7 separate regions of the Homo sapiens genome follow, and all the other regions are linked to region 1. Evidence: promoter capture Hi-C in 16 types of primary human blood cells and fetal thymus (Javierre and others, 2016). All regions are on one chromosome and are shown on one strand. Each heading gives the region's core, a stretch centred on a gene start or on the middle of the fragment in contact. The rest is flanking DNA. Distances are from core to core; before and after follow the strand shown. Region 1 holds the start of ADAM10 (ADAM metallopeptidase domain 10). Region 2 overlaps LOC124903499 (a long non-coding RNA gene). Region 3 has its middle 130 kb from the start of AQP9. Region 4 has its middle 130 kb from the start of LIPC. Region 5 has its middle 110 kb from the start of LIPC. Region 6 has its middle 80 kb from the start of LIPC. Region 7 has its middle 15 kb from the start of LIPC.

Region 1 (3,341 bases), core at 519-3,018:
ATGGATACAATTATGATGGTTTTGAAACGTCCGTTTTTGAGCCTATTAATGTTGCAGCAAAACTAGAATCATTCATTTCTCAAACTGAGAATTAAAGAAGACTCTTATGGCCAGGCTCGGTGGCTCCCACCTGTAATCCCAGCACTTTGGGAGGCTGGCGGGCGGATCACCTGAGGTTGGGAGTTCGAGACCAGCCTAACCAACATGGTGAGACCCCGTCTCTATTAAAAATACAAAAAATTTGCTGGGCGTGGTGGTGCATGCCTGTAATCTCAGCAACTTGGGAGGCTGAGGCAGGAGAATCGCTTGAACCTGGGAGGCAGAGGTTGCGGTGAGTCGAGATCACACCATTGCACCCCAGCCTGGGCAACGAGAGCGAAACTCCGTCTCAAAAAAAAAAAAATTCTCTTCACTTATGTTAATGGTAATAAATGGTATAAAATATACAGGTAACAGTATAGGAATTCCAGTTTATTACAGTATCAATAACATTAAGGCCGAGCGCAGTGGCTCACGCCTGTAATCCCAGCACTTGTGGGAGGCCGAGGCGGGAGGATCGCTTGAGTTGGAGGTTACAGTGAGCTATGATCACACCACTGCACTTCAGCCTGGCGAGACAGCGGATACCTTGTCTTTAGAAAGCAAAACAAAACAATTTACACACACACACACACACACACACTCTCCCTAATTCGGCTTGAGTTGGAGGTTACAGTGAGCTATGATCACACCACTGCACTTCAGCCTGGCGAGACAGCGGAGACCTTGTCTTTAGAAAGCAAAACAAAACAATTTACACATACACACACACACACACGCACACACACACTCTCCCTAATTCGGCCTACTCAAGCACGATACCAAATAGATGAAGAATATCTAATTAAATGGCCATAAAAAGTTCTAGTTCATGACATCCAAGTTTAAAGAATCAAAATGAGTTACGAGAAAACAAACACAAGCTTTAAGAAGTTGGGGAGAAGATGTGCGTGGATTCGCTTCAAAGATGTGACAGAGAGAAAAGAGGACATTTTCTGGACTGGAGATTCAAGACAGTCTGGTTCAGGTTGCATGCTTTTGCAAAGGCTAAAGCCTTAGTCTGTGACATAAATTTGTAAAGAGCTCGGAAAATTACATCTCGGACATGGTGTCTTTTTTTCCTGCTGCTTGAAGGTCTTTGCATTTATGTTCGCATCACTGGGGCAGCTGCCGCTATAATTACTGCTTGTTGGGACTTTTTGTTTACTTGGTAGCTGTGGTGCACCAAGAGAGGCAGAAAAAGAAGAAAAAAAACCTCTGTTACTTGTGACGTTAAGAAGTCGAAAGCAGCCCTGCTTACATCTTCCACGGACCATTTTAGCCCAAGGGAAGGTCCTCAGCAGCTCTAACACGTAGCGGAGCACTATCTCCGCGTAGGAGCGCTCCCGCCCCGGGGCGGGACCAGGACAAACCCCGCCTCCCAAGCCCAATCCCAGCTCTCCGCCGGCGGACAGGAAGCGGCGGCAGGCCTAGCAGCACGGGAACCGTCCCCCGCGCGCATGCGCGCGCCCCTGAAGCGCCTGGGGGACGGGTAGGGGCGGGAGGTAGGGGCGCGGCTCCGCGTGCCAGTTGGGTGCCCGCGCGTCACGTGGTGAGGAAGGAGGCGGAGGTCTGAGTTTCGAAGGAGGGGGGGAGAGAAGAGGGAACGAGCAAGGGAAGGAAAGCGGGGAAAGGAGGAAGGAAACGAACGAGGGGGAGGGAGGTCCCTGTTTTGGAGGAGCTAGGAGCGTTGCCGGCCCCTGAAGTGGAGCGAGAGGGAGGTGCTTCGCCGTTTCTCCTGCCAGGGGAGGTCCCGGCTTCCCGTGGAGGCTCCGGACCAAGCCCCTTCAGCTTCTCCCTCCGGATCGATGTGCTGCTGTTAACCCGTGAGGAGGCGGCGGCGGCGGCAGCGGCAGCGGAAGATGGTGTTGCTGAGAGTGTTAATTCTGCTCCTCTCCTGGGCGGCGGGGATGGGAGGTGAGGCACGACTGCGAGCGCCGGGGGCGCCGCGACCACGGCGGAGCGGCGGCCGGGCCGAGCGGAGCCCAGTCGCGCCTCGCGGCGTGCGCGTCAGTCAGCCCAGCCGGCCAGCGGCGCCACTCTGGCGGGCCGCGCTCCCCGCTCCCTATTGTCCCCCGCGCCCCGACCGCTTTCCCTTCGGTGGCGGGCCGAGGAGGCTCCCAAGCCTCCGGCGAGGCCTTCCCCGCCCCCCACCGCCCTGGCGGCCCCGGGAGGCGGGGGTCGCCTCCCAGAGAAGCGAAGTCGGGGCATCCGCGTCGCCTGGTGAGAGCGGTGGAACCCAGGCTGGTGGCTGCATCCCTCCAGTCTGCTCGGCGGGCGCCGGTGCAGGCAGCCGCAGCGAGGCTGGCGGTCTCGCCGTCCTCGTTCAGCGCTCATCCTGCTCACCATTCCTCCCCCAGCCCCTGCCCGGTGGCGGATTCCGAAGTCCTCTCCGCCGCCGAGACCCGCCGCGCAGACTCGTGGGAAGTTGTGTTGTTTGCAGCTGGGCTCGTGTATTGTTCTTTACCCGGCGCGCCGGTCCTGACCGACCCCATTCTGCAGAGGGGCCGCCCGTGGAGTGGCAGCAGTCATCACCCGCTTATCTGAGACTAGTGGCCTCGGTTCTTCCTGTGTCCTGTGTTTGGAGAGAGATCACAGGAGGGTGTGTTGGTGTTCTTGAAAACATTCTGTCGCCCAGGGGAAAGGGTTTGGTCGGGAGAAGGGTAAACCATTTGGGGATGTTCTTTGATTTGTAGGCTGGATTGGGTCTCTTAGAGTAGAAGTTCGGTCCCTGGGTGACCCAACTTGAAGAGTTTCGTTAAACTTTCAGGTGGAGTAGATGTACAGTGTAGTTAGTGGATTGTCAAAACAGTGCCCCCTCCCCCCTGCACATGAAAGTCAAATTTGCTAAAAGCATGTCATTTCTTGTTTCGGGTTTTGAAGACAACGATTTTTATTTCCGGTGTGTTCTAGGACCAGCTGCATCATTTTATTCTTGCTTAAAGTGCTTTATTTTAGGTAAGCTTTTTGACTTGCCCCAGAGTAAACTTAAAAACCTCAAGGTGTGCCTAAAAGCAACGATTGAAAAAATTTGAGGAATGCTTTGGATGAGTGTCTGTAGCCTTTGATAATTTAGAAAATATCTATTTCATGTAATGTATTGTTTCTGTTTTTTTCTTTGCCACTTTGACTTATGACTGCAGGACCAAGTGTATTTCTGTCCTGTATTCTACCGAGTCCGAGGGTGGTACTGCGTAGGCAGACTTCTGTTATAGTTTGTAGTGTTCATTTTTTTGTTACACGTTTTATTTAATTTTTTTCAA
Region 2 (3,341 bases), core at 287-2,786, 510 kb after region 1:
ACGAATTCACATTGGGTCAGCTCAAATCCGGAACACCCTGGGAAATGTAGTGCCCAGTGGAAACAGGTTGACTCTAGAACAATCCAGCTCAAGGAGTTACAGACTGATGCTCCTTTTACTTTTTAAATTTACACTTTTTATTTCATGTCAGTTATATCTTAGTGACTAGGAGACACCTGGATTCTGTGATTCTCATTTGCCATTTGGCACATTTCAACGCATCCTTCAAAGAAGCCAAGAGCACATGCCGATGATGCACAATTTGCAATTTGTTCTCGAGGGAATCAGCAAACAGCTGTTCTCTGGCCTTGGGCTACTTTTGAAAATGCAGTCAGTGGCCAGAGAAGGTCGTGTGGGAGAGAAGCAGATTTGTGACAGGCTCAAACTGGTGACTGGATGGACTTTAATGAAAAGAGAAATCACAGAAATAACTCACATTCACGGTCGTCGTCATTGTTTGTATTTTCCAAGTTAAAAAATTTAAGACCAAGTTTCCAGTTATTGGAGGGCCCCACGTGGAGATGGGCAGCAGCTGTCAGGGACGTTGCAGTCAAATCATTGATATGTTTTCGCATAGCTTGGTGGGAAGCTGCAGAGGGGAAAGTGCTGGAAATTGCTTCCTTGGGAGCTTCCTGCAGGCATGGCACACACCACCACCAAGCCATCCATTTGGCTGTTCATTCTAAGGACCACTCAGGGGACAAACAGATGATCTAACAGCTTTTGACTCAGTGGAGACAAAGCTATGGAAGGTGGGGTGAGAGGCCTCTCTGGAGAGCTGTCAAAAGAGAAGAGACAGGAGGAAGTGGGGAGGAGAACAAGAGGCTGAGCAATGTACAGGGTATAGAATGTGCAACCTGGTGTGGGCAGATGTAGAGAAAACAACTTATTCTCTGCTTGGTGACAGAGATGTAGTTCTTCTGGCACTTGATTCCCAAGAATGTTCATACACTGAAATATATTCTCTTTGCTTGTAAAGTCTGTGTCCTCCACATTCCCTTCATTCAGCAAAGGGAGACAACATTGTGTAATAAAAAGTAACAATGCTATCAGTAACAATAGCCAACACATACTGAGCACTTGTTATGTTCTGGGGATTATTCTCAACGCATGACATGCATGAGCTCATTAAGCTCTCACAAGAGCCCTGTAAATTGGGTGCATCATGGTAATGGAGCACCCAGAAATGGAGGCACAGAGAGATCGAATGACACGTCCAGGTGACAATGACAGGTGAGTTGGCTCATGCAAGGATTCACAGCATTGGCTTTGAATTCAGGTCATGAATTGCTAGATGTTTCACCTGGGGCAAGTCAATTAATGTAAATTATTTTTAGTTTTTCATCCATAAAGTGGAAATAATAATAGTTTCTATATCTCAGAGTTGTGGTAAGGGTTAAACATTAGCTTGACATTTATATGCCTGGTATATAGTAAGAGCTCAATAAATGGTCTCTTATCATTATCACTTCCTAGGATGTTTTAAATCGTTTCCATCCCAGCAGCCCTCAACCCCAACTGTTTCCCTCTCACATACCCATAGCATTGCCATCTAAAACCTGTGTGTGTGTGTGTGTGCGTGCACGCACACACGCATGTGTGCACACTCCCAGTCATCTGGGGAAGAAGGGAGATGGGGAAATGAAAGAGCCACTTAGAACTCAGACTAGCCCTGGGGACTGTGCAATTGCAGCATCCCTGGGGTGGCATCTGCCTGCCACTTTTTGTTTGTTGATTTATTTTGATTTGACACACGAGGACAGATGGCTGGGGGAAGGAGGTTGATAAGAGTCAATATTTGGTGACACGTGAATAATGCACTTGTGGAATTAATCAGCCTTGTCATTTTGGGCTAGTTGCCATGGCTATGGAGAGTCCTGGGTCTCGTGTAAGTCAGAGTGAAGGGATCGCAGCATGTCACTGCTCCTTGTTTTTCTCAATCCAAGGCTCCTCAAAGAGTCCCTGTCTTCCCCATCAAGGCCATGGTCTCAGACACCTTGGGTGCTGCAAATAGTAAGAGTGCCTCGCCTATGCCCCTGAATGATGGGATAGCCTTTCTGTCCCTCTCAGGGATCATGTGCATCTACGGCAGTGATTCAAAGACCAGCAAACAGGTCTGGGAATCAGCAGAATCACCAATATTTTGTGTTGCCGTATAAGTGCAGTAAAAAGAAAAAAAAAAAACTACGATTTAAAAAAGGAGCATTTTAATACCAAAAAGAAGGAAGGACATAATTTCAGAATAGAAAAGTCATTCTTTACAATGAGAACACATGGACACAGGAAAGGGAACATCACACACCAGGGCCGGTTGTGGGGTGGGGGGAGCGAGGAGGGATAGCATTAGGAGATATACCTAATGTTAAATGATGAGTTAATGGGTGCAGCACACCAACATGGCACATGTATACATATGTAACTAACCTGCACGTTGTGCACATGTACCCTAAAACTTAAAGTATAATAAAAAAAGAAAAAAAAAGAAAAATGGTTCTTTAATTAGAAAAAATTTAGTTTAATGAAAAAACTTTCCCATCATCATTTTTTTTCTCATTTCATTGATGACTAGTGGAAACTTTTAACAGATTGGCCATGTAGGTATATTTCGTAAGTGTGGAGGCAAGAAGACAGAATACTCAAAACAGTGCTTCAGGTGGAATTCTAATGAGTGTGATTGTTGGAGACATGGGGCAGAACAATGAGCTCCTTGGTGCCTCAGTGTGCCCCGTCATAAAATGAGTATATCTGTTCTCACCTTGTTTACTTCATGGGGTGGTTCTGAGGATTAACTAGACAATATAGGTGAAAACAAATGGTGACTTCTTACCAAATTTGGGAGCTCCTCAGAGGCAGCAACTATGTCCTGCGGTGTCCCTAGCGTCGGTTATGTGGAAAGTACTCAGTTCAAGTGCACTGAATAAATAAGACAGCAAGTTAAAGGAGTGACTGTAATAGCAGGGAATCAAACCAGACAGGAGGGGAGGGGAGGGCACTGGAGGACAACGGGCTCGGCTACACCTCCCTCTTCTTTCTAGGTCAGCAGCTACTTAATCAGAAAGATCAACTCAACATTTTCCCTTGACCCAATTAGATTATCGAATCTCCAATAAACGTCATCTGTTATCTCTGGAATCCAGGTAATTTTCTGTTTCTTGGGGAAGACCTTTGCAACGGTGATTGTTATTACGACTTGAGACACACTGGTTGGAGGTGTTGGCCTTGGCACTGGACTACCTGGGTTTGGATACTGCCTTGTCCACTTCCTAGCTTCATGCTCTTTGGCAAGTTACTGACCCTTTCAGTGCCTCAGTTTCCTCACTTGTAAATGGTGATAATAACTG
Region 3 (3,341 bases), core at 452-2,951, 490 kb after region 1:
AGTGCATACACATTGTCGTACAACCACTACCACTATACATTTCTAGAATCTTTTCATCTTCTCAAACTGAAACTCCATATCCATTATGTAATGAGTCCCTTCCCTCAGTCCCTGGCAACCATCCATTCTACTTTTCTTTGTGAAATTTAGTCCTGTGAATTTTTTTTTTTTTTTTTGAGACGGAGTCTTGCACTGTTACCCAGGCTGGAGTGCAGTGGCGCTATCTCAGCTCACTGTAAGCTCCACCTCCCGGGTTCACGCCATTCTCCTGCCTCAGCCTCCCAAGTAGCTGGGACTACAGGCGCCCACCACCACGCCCGGCTAATTTTTTGTATTTTTAGCAGAGACGGGGTTTCATCATGTTAGCCAGGATGGTCTCGATCTCCTGACCTCGTGATCCGCCTGCCTCGGCCTCCCAAAGTGCTGGGATTACAGGCGTGAGCCTTTGAGCATGGCCAGTCCTGTGAATTTTAATGCACGTGTAGATTTGCGTTACCATCACCACAGCTGGGATACAGAAGAACCCCACCACCCTGGTGGACTATCCCTTTGTAGTCCCATCTTCCTCCTGACAACCACTAATCTATTCTTCATCACTATAATTTTGTCTTTTCATAAATGTCATAAATGGAGTAATAAATTATGTGACCTTTTACTACCAGTTTCTTACACACAGCACGATGCCTTCAGATCCACCCAAGTTGTGCAGTGCGGGTACCCACGGTTTGTTCCCATTTATTCTTCCCTGTGCACCTCTCTTCAACCCCACTCCTCTTCCTCCCTTGCCAAAGGGAACCCCTGCCCCGAAGTCAGTGTGTTAGAATCTCATGAATATTTTAATAGTTTTAGCTGCAAAACAATATATGGTTTTTGGTTCCTAGTGTTTAAAATGTAAATAAATGGCATCATAACATACAAACCATGCTGTAAAATGTTTCTATAACTCAGCATTATGTTTTTGAGGGATATCCACTTTGGTGCCATGTTAATGCTGGGTTACAAATCTTCATCACTCTATAACATTCTGTTATATGAGTACATCATGTATTCATCCGTTTGCCTGTGGAGGAACATGTTTTTTCCCTGTCTGTCTCTCTGTCCCATTACCTCACTCTGAATAGCAGTATTTGGCTCCCTCCTAAACCCCACTCCCTTCCCCAGGGCCTCCAGTCCCTAAGCAGGCCTTGCTGATGTTCAGAAGTACCCACAATGGGGGCAAATCCCAAATCTCATCTTCAAGCTGGCTGCTTGCTTGGCTGAGTACCTGGGCAGAGCCTTTGTCTGGATCCGTTGACCCCTAAGCCCAAGGTGTTAATTAACATCAATCCTGGATGTATGTTGCAATCTCCAAAGGAGTCCTTTAAACAGGAAAGAGGGAGAGGGGGAGAGAGTAGGAGGGGAAGAGAGAGGAGTAAAGGGAGAAGAGGGAGAGAGATTAGGAGGGGAAGAGAGAGGAGTAAAGGGAGAAGAGGGAGAAGGAGGGAAGGGACTGGGAAACGGGGAGGGAAAGGAGAGAGAGAGGGAGAAAGAATTAAAGAAATTAAGTCAGAATTTCTGGGCAGTGGTATTTTTCTAAAAACTTATCAAGTTAAAGATGCAGCCAGGGTAACAAACCCTTGATTAAAACAAAACAATGTTCCAGGCAGCATTTTCTAGCTTTCCAGAAGGTTTGGGAGCCCCAAACCCTGACTTTCCACTCCCTCCATCCCTACCCCTTTTAGCCCTTACAGCCTTGTGGGAGCCACCATCTGAGCTTTCAGAACCAGGCACCAAAGCCCTGGCCTCAGTCCAGCTCCTGGTGGGCTTTCTTGTCATTTGTAGTACACAGGGATGTTTATCTGGTTTCTGAGTCTCACTACAGTGTATAAGTCTTCTCCATTTGTTCTTTATCTGATATGTCTATATGTTGGAGCAAAGATGTTATCTGAGGGCATGAACTTACAGAAATGTTTCCTGTCTCACTTTTGAATGCATACTTTATTCGCTGAAGGACTGCTATTGTACCTTCAAAGGAACTTACGATGCCACCTTATAAAATACCTTCTTTTTGTATTTTGCCTTTTTTAAATGAAAAGGTATTGCTTTTTCTCATTTTAGAAATAATTCATGCTTGCAGTAAAAAGTTCAAACGCTATGGAAATGTATGACTTAGAAAATGAAAGAAAGTGTTCCGTAATCATGCCCCCGCAGATGATTACCACAAATAATTTTGAGCCTATTTTTCCATATGTTTACCATACACATACTAACTTTACAAAAATAAAAATGAAATTACATTGGAGAACTGTAGGGCCAATTGATTTCTGCAGTTAGTGTATCATGGAAAGTTTTCAGTACTTACATAACTTATTTCATTATTTTTAATGGACACATGGTGTTCCTTTGTCTGGTTGTACTGAGGTGCATTTACTGAGGGCCATTTGGGATGTTTTGGTTTTGGCATCATAGATGATGCTGAAATAAACTTTTCTTATGTACATCTCTGTGTATTTATGTAAGGTCAAAAACTGCTTTATCTCTTGGAACAGAAGTGAATGCATTTGCAGGGGAAAGGATAGAGCGGAGGGAGGCTGGTGCCCTTCTCAGCAGTCAGAAGGCAGTAGATGCTTGGGGCTACTTTAGATACTTGGCCCTAGGAGAATATATCTCCTGAGTCTCAAAACTCTCAATGCCGTGCATACCATGACAGATTCCCTTCACTCCACCCTGTCCTGAACCTTTTGGATTGCAGTACACCAGTCTCCAGAAGGTTAACTTGGAAAGGTTAGGGAAGTGTAGGTTTTTGTTTGTTTGTTTGTTTTATCCCTAGATTGCTTATAAAGTGTAGTATTTTTCAAATTGCAGAGCTGTGACCCATTCATGGATTATGAAATAAAATTAGAGGGTTACAAACAAGCAATTAAAAAATAGGGGACAGAGCGAGACTCTGTCTCAAACAAAACAAAACAAAACAAAAAAGAATAGTACAGAAAATAAGAGTGCATGACATGAAGTAAGTGTAAGTACTGTTTACTCAAAATTTTATTTCAGGTGTGTGTGTATACGTGTATCTGTGTGTGTGTCTTAAGTCAGTTTCCCTAGAAGCAGAGCTCAACAAAACAGATCTGGGTGTGTGTGATCTGGAAAAGTGAGGGGGACCAGCTGGGGCAGGAGAAGGAGCTGAACGAGAGTGTGTGCTCCCAGCGTGATTTCTGGGGCTCTGATGCTTGAGTTGTTCCACAGACCTGGTGCTGCCTTAGGGAAGGGGCCAGACTGTGAACTCCCAGGTCCACCATCAGCTGTGGGCTGTGGGCTGATCTGAAGAGGAGGGGTGCGTAACCTGGAAAGTCAGCTCCTATTCT
Region 4 (3,341 bases), core at 518-3,017, 450 kb after region 1:
GATATTTGATTTCACAGCCTTAAATACAGCCAGAAGTGGTGGTGTGACTCAGTTTTGGCCAGGAAGATGGATGGAAGGAGAAGGTTGCTGGAAGCTCCTATGAAAGCTTTGCTTTTGCTGATACAAAGTCTGGAAGCAGCTGGTGTCAATCTCTCTTCAGTCTTCTTGCCTTGAACATGGCTTGGACACCCATGATGGCTTTCTTGTGATCAGGAGGCAAAGCGTGAGAGCAGAACAGAGATGTGACCCAGAGACCTGCATTACTGCTAAACCAACACCAGAAATTGCTTTCTACTTCCTGCTATATGAGAAAAACAAATCTCTATTTATTTACACCACTGATAGCTTTTCTAGTATTTGCAGTTGGATCCAATCACTCTTGGGTTTTCTATTATTTGCAGCCAAAAGATTTTCTGATAGCAAAAGTTAGAGTTACTCCCTTGGGCAAAAAGCAAAGGGAACATGGAAGAGGTGAAGAAGAGAGTTATAAATGGTAGCTACAGCCTTAGGATCAGTTGTAGAAATAAGGGGATTGTCCCTCCCTCTTTTTCAGGTGAATTTTCCACTCTCTGCTAAAGTATCTGACAATTGAATAACACTACTCCATTCCCTCTTTCATTTTTTTAAAAAACAAAATAGATGTTATTATTTTCTTTATTGCCAGCTTAAAAATTCTCTGTTCACCTTCCACCATATTTGTCAGGTGTGTTGGTTGTGTCTCCATTCACCATTTGCCCCGAGTTTGCAGAATAGAGAGGACCTATCGTTAGAAAGGGTTGCAGAAGGAACACTGGAGGAGTATTATCAGAAGATCATGGGCTTGCTGCAGAAAGTCAACTTTTCAAGGGTCCACATGACTTAGCCATTGCACATAGTACCTGCAGAACACATGTCTTTGGTTGCCTTCTTGCTGGGAGCAAGTGAGTTGTGTATAGCTGTGTAATACTCATTACAATGAATAGGATGTATTGAAAGCTGTTAAGAAAGAAGGGTATGTTGCAGGTATATAAGCAAGGAGTGGAATATCTGTCATGGGGCCTGCCGTGTTCAGCATTCTCTCTGAGCTGAAACTCCTTGGCCTCAATAGTATCTGCGTACATGTGTGAAATGGTGGTTCACAATAATAGGAGGCATAGTCAGTCTACAGTAAGTGCTTGGTGCACATATGGTTTCTTAGACCCCTGAAATATCTTCATAGCCCCCAGGAACTGGGAACCACTGGTTGACGTACTCTGCCTTCAGTATCAGATTTAATTAGCTGCATTTGTCCCGCACACCAACAGAGTAGGAAGGGGATGCAATGTTCAGGGAAATAATCCTGCTCTTCCAGGATTGTTTGGTAAAATTTGTTTGACCTTGCACTGATTGTGAAGAGAATGAGCAGCCAAAACCGTGGTGAAGTAGGCAGGAGACTGTGTGATACAATATGTAAGGTGTCCAAAGACACTCCAGTTCTGAATTCTCCCTCATGCCCACGACCTATGGAGAGGCTTCCTCCACTGGAGATAAGCTTACTGCCCCTCCTGTCTAATCCTCAAACGGTCCTTCACTGTACTCTGCCCTGGTCTGTAATTGCCTGTGCTGCCCAGACCAATTCTTTTTTGCACATGGCTTTTTCTCTGATTTGTATGCCTGCACAAAAAATTGCACGAAAAATTGATCACCCAAGGCAGGCTCGCAAGCTGAAGGAGGAGAGATAAGACCAGGGCATGGGATGCTACCCTGGGTGGTGATCAAGCAGTAGACACTAGAATACTTCTGGTAGAAGGATAGAGGTAGATACCGGGATGTGGGAGGAAGAGCCACCAGAGGACGAGGGCTCAGGAAGACAGATTTTACTGATTGTATTTTATATCACTCTTTGGCCTTTCAGGAGGCCAGATCATCATTTTATGCTCCATTACAATACCCACACTGATTATAATGACAGGCATTTTGGATTTTGTCCTAATAGCTCTTGTTTACCTTTTAAAAATTTTGTATTTTGTTAGTCATTTTAAGAAACACATGCATTGAGAAGCTTGCAGATTTTTCTAAGGGAAAATAAGACAGCCCGGACCAGGGGGAAGAGTCCACATTTTAGAGTCAGACTAATTCATATACAAAACCAGATTCTGCCACATACTGCTGCTGTGTGGCATTGGACAAGCCACTTAACGTGTCCAAGTTTCATCTATAAAACTGTGATAGTGTAATACCTATTCTGCAGAAACCTTAGTAGGATTTCATGGAGAACATATGTAAAGTTCTTCCCTTGGCATCTGGAAGATCCTGCCCCCTGCTAGCAGTGTGTAACAGCTGAGATGTATGGACCCTTATTAGGTGCTGGGAAATGCCCTCAGCACATTAGCTCATCTAACACTGATATGGTCTGGCTCTGTGTCCCCACCCAAATCTCATCTCAAATTGTAATCCCTATAGTCCCCACATGTTGAGAGCGGGACCTGGTGGAAGGTGATTGGATCATGGGGGTGGTTTCCTCCATGCTATTCTCGTGAAAGTGAGTGAGTTCTCATGAGATCTGATGGTTTTATAAGGGGCTCTTCCCTCTTTGCTCGTTGGGTCTCTCTTGCCTGTTGCCATGTAGGACATGCCTTTGCTTCTCTCTTGACTTCTGCCGTGATTGTAAGTTTCCTGAGCCCTCTCTAGCCGTGCAGAACTGTGAGTCAATTAAACCTCTTTCCTTTATAAATTACCCAGTCTTGGGTAGTATCAGGTAGCGTCTTTATAGTAGTGTGAAAACAGACTAATACAGACACAGAAACAGGTCCTTGTGGCCTCCATCCCCTGCAGTCTTCCCCAAGAGAGTTCCCAGAGGCCTTTCTAAGCAACTTCTGTGGTTTAAAAACCACTGCTGTGAAGGAAACAAAGACCTCACTCCTCTCCTTTGAAGCTGATGGCCTGTCTTTGGCCCTGCCTAGGCTTCACAGAGGGTCACCTCTGGAGGCCCAGGGTGTGAAGAAGGCAGAGCCAGGCTTAATCAGTGATCCACAGAGAGGTAGAGGTGAACTGGGGGAAAGTTGCCTCCCAGGGAGTCCTGAAGTGGATGAAACTGAGTCATGAATCGGCCCACAGCTACTCAGCGGCTCTCAGAAAACTCACCACATTCTTCTGGCGTGTTTCTAACTGCTTGTGGAGCAACTTCTGCCCCTGACCTAAGAGGGCTGGGGAATACCATGAGCGAAGAGCGCAGACCCAGAAAGCCCTTCAGAGCCCATGGCTGTGAGCACCAAGGGAGAGGTCTGGGCTGAGCCCTGGCGGGGATTATGTGGTTGCTCCTTGGGAGGGATCCAGTGCAGTTAGGAGGGCTCTGGCCAGATAGACTGAATGGAAGGACTAAG
Region 5 (3,341 bases), core at 423-2,922, 430 kb after region 1:
TCCTTTAACTATGTTCTTTTTCAGATTTGTTTTATTCTAGATTCTTTAGAATCAACTTGTAATTTTTTAAAAAAAGCCATGTGGGATTTTAACTGGGATTGCTTTGAATCTATATCATTTCGAGGAGAATTGACATCTTAACAATATTAGGCCTTTTGACCCATGAACATGATATACCTCTCCATTTACTTAGATCTTTAATTTCTCTCAGCAATATTTTATGTCTTCTGGTGGATAGGTATTTCACATAATTTTTGAAATTTATCTCTAAGTATTTTGATTTTTCATGCTATTGTAAATGATAGTTTTTAAATTATAAGTTCTGATTATAGCTTGTGTATAGAGATACAGCTGGTTTTGCATATTGATCTTTTATCCTGCAACCTTGCAAAACTCACTTATTAGGTCTAGTAGCATTTGTAGATTCCATTGTTGATTTTCAACATAGACAATTATTTTGTCCTCCACATTAAACGTGATTGTGTTGTCCTTCTTTAAATTATCTTTGCTGGGAGGTTGGTCTAAATTACATACTGTGCCAGAGCCTGAAAATCCAAATGATGTTCTCCTCGGTGAGGAGTGGGAGCTTAGTCTCATTGTACAATCAATCTGCATTTGAATCAGTAGCTTCCAGTCCGTCTTGAGCCCATATGTGTAGGCCACAGTGATATTCTGGCTTCCCACCCTGGCAGTCTTGGCACCTTGGTGCCCAGAGAGCTTCGTGCTATTTGTAGTAGTGCATTTCACTGTGCAATGTGTCCTCCAGACTCTGTATAAATGTCAGATATTATTAATCTTAGTACTTTTAGCCAACTTAATACATCACTCTCTAAACGTGGTAAAGTTTACGTTTCCCATATACTGAGATCACAATATCATAGCACCCTCATCTGAAGGTGATTCGGCATTAGTAAAAGCCTATCATGAATCTATACCTCTTTTCTCTGTATTCTCTGGCTCCTTCCACACTCATCCCAACTCCTTCCCATGGCCTTTCTCTGACTTAACACTTTTTTTAAACATCTTTTCGTTTTCAGGCACCGAAAGGTTTAGAGTCAACCCTTAGCAAGGGCACGGAATTTCTTGACATGCGTTTTTGTATAGGCCTCATTCCTGGCTCTGTTTATGTTTCCATCTCATTTTCCTTTTGTCTCTTCTTTCTTGCCTACTACTGATTTATATTCCTTTGATATATTTTACCTATTTTTGTGAGTCAACCTAAATTCTTTCTGAAAAAAGGCAAGATACGAATTACAGTTGACCCTTGAACAACATGAAGATTAGGGTACTGACTGACCCCCTGTACCGTCAAAATTCTGCATAAAACTTTTTACTCTCAAAAACTTAACTACAAATAGCCTACTGTTGACCAGAAGCTTTACTGATAACATAGTTGATTAACACATATTTTGTATATAATATATATTATATATTGTAGTCATAATAAAGTAAGCTAGAGAAAAGACAATGTTTCTAAGAAAATCATACAAACAACCATCAGAGAATACTGTAAACACCTCTATGCACATAAACTAGAAAATCTAGAAGAAATGGATAAACTCCTGGACACATACACCCTCCCAAGACCGAACCAGGAAGAAATTGAATCCCTGAATAGACCAATAATGAGTTCTGACATTGAGGCGGTAATAACCTACAAACCAAGAAAAGCCCACGACCAGATGGATTTATAGCTGAACACTTCCAGAGGTATAAAGAAGAGCTGGTACCATTCCTACTGAAACTATTCTGAAAAACTGAAAAGGAGGAATGCCTTCCTAACTCATTCTGTGAGGCCAGCATTATCCTGATACTAAAACCTGGCAGAGATACAACAACAACAAAAAAAAAAAAAAAAAAAAAAAGAAAAAGAAAAAACTTCAGTCCAATATCCTTTATGAACATCAGTGTAAAACTCCTCAGCAAAATACTGGCAAACCAAATCCAGCAGCACATCAAAAAGCTTATCCGCCATGATCAAGTAGGCTTCATCTCTGGATGCAATGCTGGTTCAACATATTCAAATCAATAAATGTGATTCATCACATAAAAAACTAAAGACAAAAACCACATGATTATCTCAATGAACAAAGTAAAGGCCTTGGTAAAATTCAACATCCCTTCATGTTAAAAACTCTCAATAAACTAGGTATTGAAGGAACATACCTCAAAATATTAAGAGCCATTTATGATAAACCCACAACCAATATCATACTGCATGGGCAAAATCTGGAAGCATTCCCCCTGAAAACTAACACAAGACACAATTGTCCTCTTACCAGTCCTATTCAACATAGTATTGGAAGTTCTGGCCAGGACAATCAGGCAAGAGAAAGAAATAAAGCGTATTCAACTAGGAAGAAAGGAAGTCAAACTATCTTTGTTTGCAGATGACATGATCCTATACCTAGAAAGCCCTACTGTCTCAACCCAATTCTTAAGCTGGTAACCAACTTCAGCAAAGTCTCAGGATACAAAATCAATGTGAAAAAATGGCTAGCATTCCTATACGGCAACAACAGGCCAGCCAAGAGCCAAATCATGAATAAAGTCCCTTTCACAACTGCCACAAAAAGAATAAAATACCTAGGAATACAGCTAATGAGGGAAGTGAAGGATCTCTTGAAAGAGAACTACAAACTGCTCAAAGAAATCAGAGATGACACAAACAAATGGAAAAACATTCCATGCTTATGGATAGGAAGAATCAATATCATGAAAATGGCCATACTGCCCAAGGCAATTTATAGATTCTTTGCTATTACCATTAAACTATCATTGACATTCTTCACAGAATTAGAAAAAAAAATTATAAAATCCATGTGGAACCAAAAAGGAGCCTGAAGAGACAAGGCAATCCTAAGCAAAAAGAATAAAGTTGCAGGCATCATGTTACCGACTTCAAACTGTACTTTAGGGATACAGTAACCAAAACAGCATGGTACTGGTACAAGAACAGATACAAAGACCAAAGGAATAGAATAGAGAACCCAGAAATAAGACTGCGCAGCTACAACTATTTGAGCTTCAACAAACCTGACAAAAGCAAGCAATGGGGAAAGGATTCCCTATTTAATAAATGGTGCTGGGAGAATTGGCTAGCCATATACAGAAAATTGAAAGTGGACCCCATCCTTACACCATATACAAAAATCAACTCAGGATGGATTAAAGACTTAAATGTAAAACCCAAACTATAAAAACCCTAGAGACGAAAATCTTGGCAATACCATTCAGGACATAGGCACGGGCAAAGATTTCATGACGAAGATGCCAAAAGCAATCGCAACAAAGCGAAAATTGACAAATGGGATCTAATTACAGATCTTCTCCACAGCAAA
Region 6 (3,341 bases), core at 301-2,800, 400 kb after region 1:
CTCTGTGTTACAGTTGAGGAAAGAAAGGTGAGAGGTGTAAGCAGGTTGTCCAGATCAGATGGCTGCTAAGTGGTGAAACCAAGGTCAAATTCAGAACTTCTGACTCTAGGGCCGTCACACAGCGCTGTCTTTAAGTTGTTGAAGTTTGGTTGTGGTGTTGAAGGTCCCTTCAGCTTTTCAGTAGGGGAAAAAGCGTGTGCTGCTGGAAGCCAGCAAGGCAGGTCTCCCTCCATCCCCTAGAGCCTCCTCCGGGGGCCAGTAGCAAACAGCCTAAACAGCAACGAATGTAAGCGGCCCCCGCCTTGAAGACACAGTGCAGTCCTCAAGCCCCTGGTGCAGAATGGGCTGCTGTAAAATGAAACTCTACCGGAAAAATATGGCGGCTGCGTGCCAGTGACTTGGTAACAAGGAAACCAAGTGGTGGCCAACAGGAGATCATAAAAGCAAAGATGCAAAACCCATAAACCTAGGAAATTATGGAAAATCCTCAAACCACTTTCCAAATCCTAGACTTGGTATAAATGTACGGTACTGCTAGTATTGATTATAAAAACAAGGCGCCACTGCCCTTTAGGAGGTTTTTGAGACCACAGTATAAGAAGTTATCTTCCCAACTGCCTTGTTTTACCATAGTACCCCCTCCACAAACCGACTTAAAATTTTGTTAAGGATTTGTTTGAATTTTTTTGTGTGTCATACCTGATCAGTGATTGTTCATCTTTCTCCCAGATCCTTTGCTCTTTGAGGCCAGGATCCTGTCACCCTTATTCACATTCCTCTTGTACCCAAAATAGTCGCTTATAGACAGTAAATGTAATATGTTTATATTGAATATCCCAAGCCACTGCTACCACAACCACCAAAGCTTGGACAAGCTTGAGTGTGATGCTTTCACTGCACTATTTCTTTTCAGATGTAAAACATTGGTTTGCAAATGAGTCCTCAAAATAAGCTGAGCTATATTAACAAAAGCCTTTAAATGTCTCTATGTTTTGGCTGCTCTGTCTATGGAGTAGCCATTCTTTATTCCTTCTTTCTTAATAAACTTGCTTTCACTTTACTCTGTGGATTCGCCTCAAATTTTTTCTTGTGTGAGATCCAAGAACCTCTCTTGGGGTCTGGATCTGGACCCCTTTCTGATAACATCTTTCTGGCGAACCATGAAAGGATGATACTGAGACCTCCAACCCAAAGGAAATAGACTGCAGCAATGATTGGCCAACTTTGGATATCATCTTTTGTCAGAACTTGAGTTATGAGTGGCCCTTGACATACTGATGCTTTCTGACTGAGCTCTTGTCTACCCTGAATACAAGAGACCCTAACAGTTAGGCAGGAATATGATCGCCCCATTCAGCCTGAAGAAGTTACAGAAGATGGATCTTTGTCCCTCTACAACCCTTAGGGTTAAGGGTTCTCTTATAAAAGGGAAGGGGGAAATGTCAGAGGCTGTGGAACCAGAGTGACTCCATCTCATATAGAGGGTGGGTCAAAGCTGCATTCCCAGGAGGCTAGGCATTCTAAGTCACAGGATGAGATAGGAGGTTAGTACAAGATAAAGATCTTAAAGACCTTTCTGATAAAACAGTTTGCAGTAAAGAAGCCAGCCAAAGCCCACCAACACCAAGATGGTGATGGGAGTGACCTCTGGTCATCCTCACAGCTCATTATATGCCAATTATAATGTATTAGCATGCTAAAATACACTCCCATCAGCACCATGACGGTTTACAAATGCCATGGCAATGACAGAAAGTTACCCTATATGGTCTAAAATAGGGAGGAACCCTTAGTTCCAGGAATTGCCCGCCCCTGTCCCAGAAAACTCATGAATAATCCACCCCTTGTTTTGTATATAGTCAAGAAATAATCATAAAAATGAGTGACAGTGGTGTATGCCACTGCTTTGCCTGTGGAGTAATCATTCTTTATTCCTTTACTTTCTTAATAGGTTTAACTTAATTTCACTCTTGAGAATTGTAAGGAAACAACTAGGAATGCAAATATATTTATGCACATGAAGCTCATAATAATATTATTTATAATAGGTAGAAACTGGGAATGACCCACATTTCTGACACTTTTGAAGGGATTAAATTAAATAATAGTTTTTCATATGATAACATTTAAAATATGTTTATTAAGGCTTTTAATGGGCCAGGGAAATGCTTATGATAGGATATTGTGTGAAAAACCAAGAATTCAAAACCATATGTAAAGCTTGAAATAAGATTATCTGAATTATGAAAATTGAGAATGGAAGAATTGCAAGGAAAAATTAAGAACTTCAAAGCAGAAAAATTTTTTTATTACTTTCTTCTTTATATGCTTCTGTATATATGGATTTTTAAAACTAAAACTAAAGTAATTCTGGAAAAACCAACATATAATGTGTTAAAAGGGATGAAAGTCACCATTTAAAAAGTCAAGAAAGCAACATATATCCAAACATTTATTACCAATTAATAAGAAAAATTATAGGTGAAACAAAAGGAAAAATGGGAAAAGTATATGAACAGGTAATAAAATAAACACTTAAAAACGTTCTCATCCCATAGCTGTTGGGGTAATGCCAATTAAAAGAACACTGTGAAAACCAATTTTTCACCTAATGATTGGCAAAAATGAAAAAGAGTTCTAGTGAATTACCTACTACTATCAAGTTTCTTTTACAATAGTGATGAACACGACTATTCTGGGAAGGTATAATCTAGTAAATATAGAGGTATACACGTGTGGGGTCTTCATTTGTCAGAGGCATCAGATGGGAGAATCAGCCCACCAAAATCAAAAGAACTTTATGTCATGAATTCTATAAGTTGGATACTCCGAATGAGTACTGTGTGGGACTTCCTTTCTTTTAAAATGTGCATCTCATTTCTGGGTTGTGTGAGAAGCCGACTCTGAGACAGAGACTAGCATGTGGGAAGGTTATTAGGGACTGTCCAACCATGGTAGTCTCAGGGAAGCTGTAGCATAGACCCTATGGGCAGGTCTAAAGATGGGGTGACCCTGCAGAACTGTCCTGAGTTGAAACCAGAGAACCTGGCATTTATACCCTTGTATCAAGCAGGGATATGACTTGACCTTGAGGAGGGGACTTTTCATGCAGCTGAGGCATCTCCCCAATGGCTGACTGCTGGGGCTGGCCTCCATGTCACTTTCAGAAGCTGGGGGACAAGGTCTTTAGTTTTGGAAAAAGGATCTGGGGCTGCATCATAGGGTCCACTACAAAATATGCGCTTGAATGGCTTTTCTTTTTTCTTTTTTTTGGAGGCAGAGTCTCCCTCTGTCGCCCAGGCTGGAGTGCAGTTGTGCAGTCACAGCTCACTGCAGACTTG
Region 7 (3,341 bases), core at 414-2,913, 330 kb after region 1:
ACGCCATTGCACTCCAGCTTGGGCAACAAGAACGTGAAACTCTGTCTCAAAAAAAAAAAAGAAAAGAAAAAAAAGAATCAATTCTTAGTGGTAACATTTCTGGTAAAAGGACATGAACAATATGGTTATAAATGAAGGTATGGATAAATTTCTGGGTAGCTCCACCATCAATGGATATTAGCATTTGACATTTTTTCTTGTTGTTCCATTAGAATATGTAAACTGGCATCTCCAGACTGCTTCCATTTACATGTCTTTGATTTCTGGCAAGAATTAACATTTCCCCACTATGTTTATCTACTAATTGTATGCCCCTTATGGGAATTGTCCAGTCTTTGACCCATTTATCTTTTGGAATCTTGACATTTATTTTACAAATTTGAATTAGTTATTTATGATGGATCTTAATTCTTTGTAATGTTTGATAGAAATATTTTCCCTCTTAAAAAATCTTCAGTAATGCTAATTTTTATAGTGCAATCATTTCAATTGCTTCAAAGCTGAGAAAGTTAAAATTACCCCAGAGAGCTGATAAACTCTCTTTCCAGTTGTCTGCAAGTTCTATCATAATTTGATTTTATATTTAAATCTTTAATCAACCAAAGCTTATTTTGTTGCACGTTTTATTTTTAATAACTTTTCTATTATAAAATCAATAAATGTTTATTATTGTAAAATAGGAAAATAAAGAAGAACAAAAAGAAAAACATACATAGGTCTGTGATTTCACATTTAGAGATAAGCACTGTTGACATTTTGATGTGGATATCCCCAAGTCATTTTTTCTATGTATACAATTATTTAAAAAAAATAACTGTAAACACACTGTACAAAGTGTTTAAATACCTGTGTATTAACAACACATTAATGGCATATTTCAGGGGCATTAAATATTCTTTTAAAACATTATTTGAAATAGCTACAGAGTACAGTTACACTCTATAGATGTACCATAATTGGCTTAATTCCCTATTGTTTTTTCATTAACTGTATTTAAGATAACACTATTATGAACAATGCTATTATAAACATATGCATAAATCTTGGTCCACATGTATGATTTTCTTTGTATAAATTATTTTTTTAGTAGCTTAAAAAAATTTTAGATTCTGAGGGAACATGTGCAGGTTTGTCACATGGGTATATTGTGTGATGCCGAGGTTTGAGCTTCTAATGGTTCCATTGCCCAAGTAGTGAATATTGTACCCGATAGGTTTTTTTAACCTTTGTCCCCCTCTCCTTCTCACCCCTTTTAGAATGCCACTGTCTATTATTTCCATCTTTATGTCCACTTGTACTCAATGTTTAGCTCCCACTTATAAGTGAGAACGTGCAGTGTTTATCTGCTTTTGTGTTAATTTGCTTAGGATAATGACCTTCAGCTGTAGCCATGTTGCTGCAAAGGATGTGATTTTGTTCTTTTTTATGGCTGCGTAGTATTCCTTAAAAATAATACTACAGATCATATATGTACCACGTTTTCCTTTGTATAAATTTCTTAAAGTAGAATTGCTAAGGCAAAGGTTTTATATCTAGGTATCTATATCTACCTATATATTTTGCCTTTACATATACACTGCTACGTTAAGTAAATTTCTGTCATTTTAAGTACTCATTAGCAGTGAGTGTACTCCTCCTCTGTCCTATCCTCCACCCTTGTTAACATTAGCTATTAACATTTTTGTAATTTTATGCTAAATTGATAAGCCAAAATGGTATGTGCATTTTTAAATTTTTCTTTAAAACCAATGGGTTGAAGTTGAATTTACCACCACTTCCATTTTTATTGCCTTTTTTCTTTCTTTATGAATTATCTGTTCATGATATTTATATATTTTACATACTTTATATGTTTTTATATGTAAAAACTGAGGTGCTCACTTAAGAAATTATAATGATTTCAAACACACGCATGCGTATAATGCATAGTTTTGAATACCACCTACTTCCCAGCTCCATCAAATCCTAATATTTTGCTGTACTTGCTTCCTATTTTTGCTAAAAAATAGAGTGCTGTACCTGTATAACTGTGTATCTCTTCTCAAGCCTGATCTTATTTTTCCTGTCTCAGAGGCAACGCCACCCTGAGTTTGGTGTCTTTCATTCTCATCTCTGTGTGTATATGTTTGCAGCATATGTATGTAGCTACGAAAAATATACAGTAGTTCCTCAGTATCTGTGTGGGATTGGTTCCAGGACCACCCACTGATGCTCAAGTCCCTGATACAAAATGGTGTAGTGTTTGCATATAACCTATGCACATTCTGTCATATGCTGTAAATCACCTCTAGATTACTTATAATACTTAATACAATGCCTATACATCCCTTCATTTGCCTGGTTTTAACATGGTACTCAGGATGTGGCAAATTCAAGTTTTGCCTTTTGGAATTTTGTATAATTTTCCCCCCAAATATTTTGCATCCTCGGTTGATTGAATCTATGGATGTGGAATCCCATGGATATAGAGGGATGATTGTACCATTATTTTGTATGTTTTCAAACTTTTATACTCTACACATCTATCTGCAACTTGTTTTGTCACTCAGCAGTGTATTTTCGAGATTTATCTCTGTTGATAAAACACCTACAAATGGTCCCATTTTAAGAAAGTATCAGAATTTGTTCATTGGGTTGATGGATACTTGTGTTATTTAGTTTTTTCATTTTCCTATTACAATATTGCAGTAGACATTGCATCATCCACAAGTGAAAGCTTCTAGAGTTTATTCCTAGAAGTGAAATTGCTGGATTGTAAGATATATGTCCCATCAGAGTTAGTAAGATGTTGACAATTTATTCTTCAAATAAATTACTTCCGTGAAAGTATCGTTGGCAAAATGTGAGTGTTCCTTCAGTTTTTCCACCTCATCACCAACACTTGAGGAGTGTCAGATTATTTAATTTTCACCAGTTTGATGGATGTAAAATGGTATCTCATTGTTTTAATTTTAAATTTTCTGATTACTGGTGAGGTTGAACATTTTCTTACGTGTGTGATTGTTCATTCAAATTTCTGTTGCTGAGAATAGCTTATTCATATCTTTTGTCCTTATTTCTATTAGTTCATTGCAGATATCCTCCCAGTTTGCATTTTATCTTTCATATCGCCTGTAATGTCTTGTTTCACAGAGTTTACATTTTTGTTTAATGAGATTTACACAGTCTTTCCCTTCAGGAATATCCTTAATGTCTTCATTTCTTCAATTTTCCTTTTTTTTTTTTTTTTTTTTTTGAGATGGAGTCTTGCTCTGTTGCCCATGCTGGAGTGCAATGGCGTGATCTCTGCTCACTGCAACCTCCACCTCCCGGGTTCATGTGATTCTCCTGCCTCAGCCTCG

Evidence for each region. The method cuts DNA at HindIII sites, captures the fragments that hold promoters and counts their contacts. A CHiCAGO score of 5 or more calls a contact.
Region 2: a contact is called between a fragment that was not itself captured here and the fragment with the promoter of ADAM10 in region 1, in 14 of 17 cell types (megakaryocytes, M0 macrophages, erythroblasts and 11 more). The highest score is 22.1, in megakaryocytes.
Region 3: a fragment that was not itself captured here is called in contact with the fragment with the promoter of ADAM10 in region 1 in 14 of 17 cell types (megakaryocytes, M2 macrophages, fetal thymus and 11 more); the score reaches 28.3 in megakaryocytes.
Region 4: a contact is called between a fragment that was not itself captured here and the fragment with the promoter of ADAM10 in region 1, in 10 of 17 cell types (erythroblasts, megakaryocytes, endothelial precursors and 7 more). The highest score is 9.0, in erythroblasts.
Region 5: a fragment that was not itself captured here is called in contact with the fragment with the promoter of ADAM10 in region 1 in 1 of 17 cell types (megakaryocytes); the score reaches 5.2 in megakaryocytes.
Region 6: a contact is called between a fragment that was not itself captured here and the fragment with the promoter of ADAM10 in region 1, in 10 of 17 cell types (fetal thymus, megakaryocytes, erythroblasts and 7 more). The highest score is 11.0, in fetal thymus.
Region 7: a contact is called between a fragment that was not itself captured here and the fragment with the promoter of ADAM10 in region 1, in 12 of 17 cell types (megakaryocytes, total CD4 T cells, erythroblasts and 9 more). The highest score is 8.6, in megakaryocytes.

Annotation. Positions count from the first base shown.
Region 1 is chr15:58,748,134-58,751,474 of GRCh38, reverse strand. It overlaps ADAM10 (ADAM metallopeptidase domain 10), which reads left to right and starts at 1,768. Exons shown (of 16, transcript NM_001110.4): 1 at 1,768-1,995. The coding sequence starts at 1,941. RefSeq lists enhancers at 1,149-1,328, 2,419-2,548, 2,000-2,635 and silencers at 1,399-1,688, 2,019-2,308. The HindIII fragment of the contact is 2,079 bases long and covers 965-3,043 here.
Region 2 is chr15:58,241,690-58,245,030 of GRCh38, reverse strand. LOC124903499 (a long non-coding RNA gene) reads right to left here. Exons shown (of 3, transcript XR_007064653.1): 2 at 2,828-2,913; 3 at 439-778. Among named protein-coding and RNA genes, the nearest start is that of AQP9, 100 kb to the right of the region's middle. The HindIII fragment of the contact is 6,517 bases long and covers 1-3,341 here.
Region 3 is chr15:58,262,805-58,266,145 of GRCh38, reverse strand. No RefSeq gene overlaps it. Among named protein-coding and RNA genes, the nearest start is that of AQP9, 130 kb to the right of the region's middle. The HindIII fragment of the contact is 4,002 bases long and covers 1-3,341 here.
Region 4 is chr15:58,299,298-58,302,638 of GRCh38, reverse strand. No RefSeq gene overlaps it. Among named protein-coding and RNA genes, the nearest start is that of LIPC, 130 kb to the left of the region's middle. The HindIII fragment of the contact is 510 bases long and covers 1,513-2,022 here.
Region 5 is chr15:58,316,090-58,319,430 of GRCh38, reverse strand. No RefSeq gene overlaps it. Among named protein-coding and RNA genes, the nearest start is that of LIPC, 110 kb to the left of the region's middle. The HindIII fragment of the contact is 587 bases long and covers 1,379-1,965 here.
Region 6 is chr15:58,350,650-58,353,990 of GRCh38, reverse strand. No RefSeq gene overlaps it. Among named protein-coding and RNA genes, the nearest start is that of LIPC, 80 kb to the left of the region's middle. The HindIII fragment of the contact is 1,345 bases long and covers 878-2,222 here.
Region 7 is chr15:58,415,225-58,418,565 of GRCh38, reverse strand. No RefSeq gene overlaps it. Among named protein-coding and RNA genes, the nearest start is that of LIPC, 15 kb to the left of the region's middle. The HindIII fragment of the contact is 2,111 bases long and covers 608-2,718 here.